Regions from separate parts of the Homo sapiens genome. Here region 2 is linked to region 1. The links are contacts of gene promoters, found by promoter capture Hi-C in human tissues and cell types (Jung and others, 2019). All regions are on one chromosome and are shown on one strand. The core of a region is centred on a gene start or on the middle of the fragment in contact, and the rest is flanking DNA. Distances in the headings are between cores, read along the strand shown.

Region 1 (2,595 bases), core at 70-2,569:
GGATTTAAAGAAGTCAAGGCAGATGTGTACAGGAGTGTATTTCTATATCTACTTAACTCACACACACTCCCCCAGCTTGATTCTACATCACCTTTCAGATCCTGGCATTTAAGATAATCTTCTCATATTACGGGGGAGGGCGGCGGGGGGAGGAGGTGAAAGAATAGTGTTGGCGGGGGGCAATCCGGACTGTCTTAAAGAGACAGCACACATCCTCTTATTAAGACAATAAATGAGAACGAAATTCACTAGTCAATACAATATTGAGCACCTACTGCCCATCTGAGCTCTATAAACTGACAGAAGAGAAGGGTGCTTCCCCACGTGTTCCCTGGTCCCGCATTTCGGCCTACAGGAACGGCGCTCTTTAAACTACTTACTAGACATGAACATTGCCACCGTGAGTCTGAGGCCAGCTTTCCCTCATCTTGTCTACTACGGAATCTTGTGAAATCCCAAAGATAACTTTAAAAATTATTTTAACATACATGTGAATTCACAATAACATAAATACACTCGCATCTCCTCCACACCGCTGAAAGAGGAGAAAGGTTCAAGTACAAAGGTGGGGAATGCTCGCACCGGCTTCTCCCTGTCCTGGGTGAAATCCATGTTGGGAAGAGCTTGATCTAGGTCACCCACCCGGGAGCTGAGACCACAGACGTCCCTGCCACCTTCGGCGGCGCAGCCTCGTCTAGATCTCACCGCCTCAACTTGCCAGGAAACTTAACGACCTGAAAGCACCAGACCGCCGAGCAAGCCATCGGAAGTTCCCTTTCGCACTCACCACCACAGAAAAACTGAGTTCAGTGAGACAGACCTTAGAGGAGCCAGGTCCTGGGATGAGACCTCCTGGTCCCCCAAGCACCTGCCATTGAGCTCCGCTCCGACCCTACGACCCCGAGAGAAACACCCGCCCGCGGGCAGAGCCGGCCGGGACCAGGAGCAGTGGGTGCGGGGCGACCCGCGGGACAACGACCCGGCAGTCCCCCGCCCTCAAGACCCAGGGACCTCGGCTCCGCCCGGTCCCGCCGCTCCCAGGCCCCGCCTCGACCCCCTCACCGAGCAGCAGCAACAGCAGTAGCAGCAGCAGGGGTCGCCGGGCGCTGCCGGGGGCCGCCATGGCGCGAGGCGGCCGGGTACGGTGCGGGGAGCGGGGGCGCGGGCGGCGGTTGGGCCGCGGACTGCCGGGCGCTGCGGTGGCGGGGCGCGGGCGCCAAGGGCTGGCGTTAGAGACAGCGGCGTTACCAGACGCAAGAGGCCCGGCCACTGCGACGCCGGCACGAAGAAGACACCGCGGCCGGCAGCGCTTGTCACGTGAGCTGCGCCGCGCCCGGGCGTCACGTGATCCCGCGGGTCTCGCGAGAGCGCGCGCGTCGAGCGCCGGCGGCTCGGCTCCCCGCAGGTGCGGCAGCTTCCAGCACCGCGCGCCCCCTCACGCGTGATGCAGGCCGACACGTGACCCGCAGCGGCACGTGACCCGCAGCGGCACGTGACCCTGGACCCACGTGACCCGGCCTGGTCCGGGGGACTGGGGCCGAGCCGAGGTCCTGAAACGGGAAGTGGGCTGGGTTCGCGGAAAAGGAAGAGGAAGAGTAGTGGCGGGAGAAAGTGAGGAAAGAGGAAGCCCGCGAGGGGAGAAAGGGCAGACGGATCGCGGACGCCCAGGCCTCCCTTCAGCCTGCGAGGCGTCCCAAACGCGGGCTCTTTATGGACAGGAGGGTGGTGTGGGTGGCAGCGCGGGTGACCGGCCGGGTGCGCGGCCAGGGATGGGCGAAGGGTTTGTCTTTTGGTGAGTGGGAAGCAAGTTCCTCACACAGGGAGGCCACTGTGCCCAAACTCTTGAGTGGTTTTAGGAAGGAAATAAGGGATCTGAAATGGGTCAGTGCGGCCTTCCGCTCGTTAATCGCGGGCTGAGGGAAGACGGCACCAGGCTGCCCAAGGTGAAGGTGAAGGTGCGATGGCGATACTCTTTGGCTTACAGAAAGTTCCTGTCGAGCACTTTGTTTTTTTTTTTGAGACGGAGTCTCGCTCTGTCGCCCAGGCTGGAGTGCAGTGGCGCGATCTCGGCTCGCTGTAACCTCCGCCTCCCGGGTTCAAGCGATTCTCTTGCCTCAGCCTCCCAAGTAGCTGGGATTACAGGCGTGCGCCACCACGCCCGGCTGATTTTGTATGTTGAGTAGAGACGGGGTTTCACCAGTTGGCCAGGCTGGTCTCGAACTCCTGACCTCAAGCAATCCACCCGCCTCGGCCTCCCAAAGTGCTGAGATTACAGCCCTGAGCCACGGCGCCTGGCTCCTGCATTTTAGAAGTCTGAAGATGCTCTGTTTTTTGGCTTGTCATCATATAGGATTTATGGCCTTTTGTTAAAATACTATTTAATTAAGGCCCCTACGCTACTGCTTTGTATAAAGCACCCGTCGCATAAGTACCTACATCTTAGAAAAAGATTTAATCTTACATTTCAAAAGGCATCATAGCAACGGGGACTGGATGTGCACCTAGTTAATAGAGACAGCACTCAGCCAGATAAAGACAGGACCAGGCACTCACTATCAGTCCTCACCAGAGGACTGTGACCTTAAAAAGGGCGGG
Region 2 (2,595 bases), core at 50-2,549, 180 kb before region 1:
TTCATTCGTGTTATTTCATAATACTGTATATTAAACGTAGAATTTCTTATGCTGCTCTGTTAAAAACTAAGATGTCATTTTGGTTTTTGCTTGTAACATTTTTCTATTCTACCTACAGGATTGGGATAAAGGCTTCATTAATAACTTAAGGTGTTTCTCGCTTATCAGATAAGTTATAAAAGTAAATGAAAGGGCCTAATGTAACTGTCTCTTAATCATTAAGCTTACTGAACTACAGTCATGCACTACATAATGACATTTCGGTCAACAGTGGACCGCTTATACAACAGTGGTCCCGTAAGGTTAGAATGGGGCTAAAAAATTCCTACATCCCAGCCATCATAGTGTCATAGCACAATACATTGCCTGTGTGTGGTGATGCTGGCACAGACAAACCTACTGCACTGCCAGTCGTATAAAAAGCATAGCGCATCCAGTTATGTGCAGTATATAATACTTGATAATATAAAGGCTTATGTTACTAGCTTATTTACTCAACTTTTTATTATTTTCGAGTGTACTCCTACTTGTTTGTTTGTTTGTTTGTTTTTTGAGATGGAGTCTTACTCTGTCACCCAGGATGGAGTGCAGTGGCACGATCTTGGCTCACAGCAAACTCCGTCTCCTGAGTTCAAGCGATTCTCATGCCTCATGCCCGGCTAATTTTTGTATTTTTAGTAGAGACGGGATTTCACCATATTGGCCAGGCTGGTTTTGAACTCCTGACTTCAGGGGACACACCACCTTGCCTCATCAGCCTCCCAAAGTGCTGGGATTACAGGCGGGAGCCACCGTGCCTGGCCCAGATGGATTTTTAAATATCACCTGTTCATATTGTTTAAAATAGATACAACTAAAACAGCTTTGAGGCATACAGGAACTCTACAGATAAGGAGGACCATTTCATAATGATAAAGGGCTTATCTCACCAAGAAGGCAGTCACACTTACGTTTTTATGTATTTGTTGAAGAGTCCCAATGTATTTAAAGCAAAAATAAGCAACTACAAAGAGAAAGATACAAATCCATGATCAAAGTGAGGAATTTTCACACACATCGTAGTAACTGATGGAATGAGTCAATGAAAAATTAGTGAGGAAATAGAAGATTTGGACAGCACAACAAATGGCCTAGGAGAACATTTAGAATGTTGCCTTCGATGCTTAAGAATACATATTCTTTTCAAAAGAAAACACAGAACAGCCTGGCAGGAGAGATACCATCATCATGAAGGTGATTTTCCCAGAGCTGGGCTTATCCATTGCATTCTGGATGTGCTGACGCCTGTGGTTTTCCCAAATGTGGGAAACTGGACTGCATAATTTGTGGTAGTGGGGGACTATGTTCGTGTTCTCTCCTGGTGTTTAAAATTAAAAAAAAAAAAACTTTATTAAAGGCACAGAACATTAATAAAAATTGACAATAAACTGGGCTATTAAGTAAATTGCAACAATTTCCAGAGGTTTGAAATGATACAGAGTATGTTTTCTGACCACAGTACAGTTAAACTAGGAATATAACAAAAAGATAACTAGGGATATGTGTGGATATTGCATACCTCTAAGTAACCCTTGGGATGAGAAAGAAATTACAATGGAAATTAGAAAATATCTTGAATAATGAAAATACAATATATGTAAGCTTGTAGAATTCAGCTTATTAAATGCATATTTTAGAAAGAAGGAAAGGCTGAAAATCAGTGAGCAAAGCCTTCCATCTCAAGAAATAGAAAAAGAATATAGAAGGAAGGAATTAATATTTTTAAAGAAGCACTAATTTACAAGAATAATTAAATAGAAAAGAAGTTGTCATTAGGAAGGATCAATAAAGCTAGAAGCTTGTTATTTGAAAAGACTTGTAAATGTGGTAAATCACAAGTAACGTACGTAGATGAAAAGGGGGACGAGATAATAGGTGCCAGAAGCATTAAAAAAAAAAAAGTCATGTATGAAGAGCTTTATGCCAGTAAATTTGACAACGTATGTGAAAAATGTAATTTACTAAAACTGACACATGAAGAAATAGAACATCTTAATAGTTCTGTAACTCTTAAGAATTTGAGCCTGTAGTTTAAAATCTTCTCAAAGAGACAACTCCTGTTTGGGATGACTTAATTGGCACATCCTACCAAACTCCTAATGAAAAGGAAAATCCCCAATTTTAAACATCCTCTTCCAGAGAAGTAAAGGAAGAAAGATTTCACAATTTGTTTTTAAGGCCAGCAAAAGCTGCATGACAAAACCAAGGAAGAACATTTGAGAATGGAAAATTATAGGCCACTCTCAGCTGTAAGACTCAGAAGATGCATAAGATGATTATAAGATGCAAAAATCCTACACACAGTATCAGGAAACTGACCAGTCATTAGCAAAAAACCCAAGACGATAAGCCCAGGATGATACATCATGACAGAGTTGGTTATATCCAGGAATGCAAGATCCGTTTAATGTTACAGAGTCAATCGGTGTAATTAATTTACCATGGTTAACAACAGGAAAAAAAGGATCATCCCAGTGCATAAGATGGGTTTGATCAAATTCAATGTTTCTTCATTTAAAAAAAAAAAAAAAAACTCATAGAAAACTAAGAATAAGA

Evidence for each region. The method cuts DNA at HindIII sites, captures the fragments that hold promoters and counts their contacts. A contact is called where the count stands out against the background at its distance.
Region 2: a fragment that was not itself captured here is called in contact with the fragment with the promoter of LAMP1 in region 1 in 2 of the 25 tissues and cell types used here (aorta and dorsolateral prefrontal cortex).

The regions. Positions count from the first base shown.
Region 1 is chr13:113,295,963-113,298,557 of GRCh38, reverse strand. LAMP1 (lysosomal associated membrane protein 1) reads right to left here and starts at 1,319. Exons shown (of 9, transcript NM_005561.4): 1 at 1,063-1,319. The coding sequence starts at 1,123. RefSeq lists an enhancer at 499-678 and a silencer at 909-1,188. The HindIII fragment of the contact is 17,303 bases long and covers 1-2,595 here.
Region 2 is chr13:113,477,680-113,480,274 of GRCh38, reverse strand. The region is part of intron 3 of DCUN1D2 (defective in cullin neddylation 1 domain containing 2); the gene reads left to right. It also overlaps the pseudogene RNU1-16P. Among named protein-coding and RNA genes, the nearest start is that of DCUN1D2, 12 kb to the left of the region's middle. The HindIII fragment of the contact is 4,398 bases long and covers 1-2,595 here.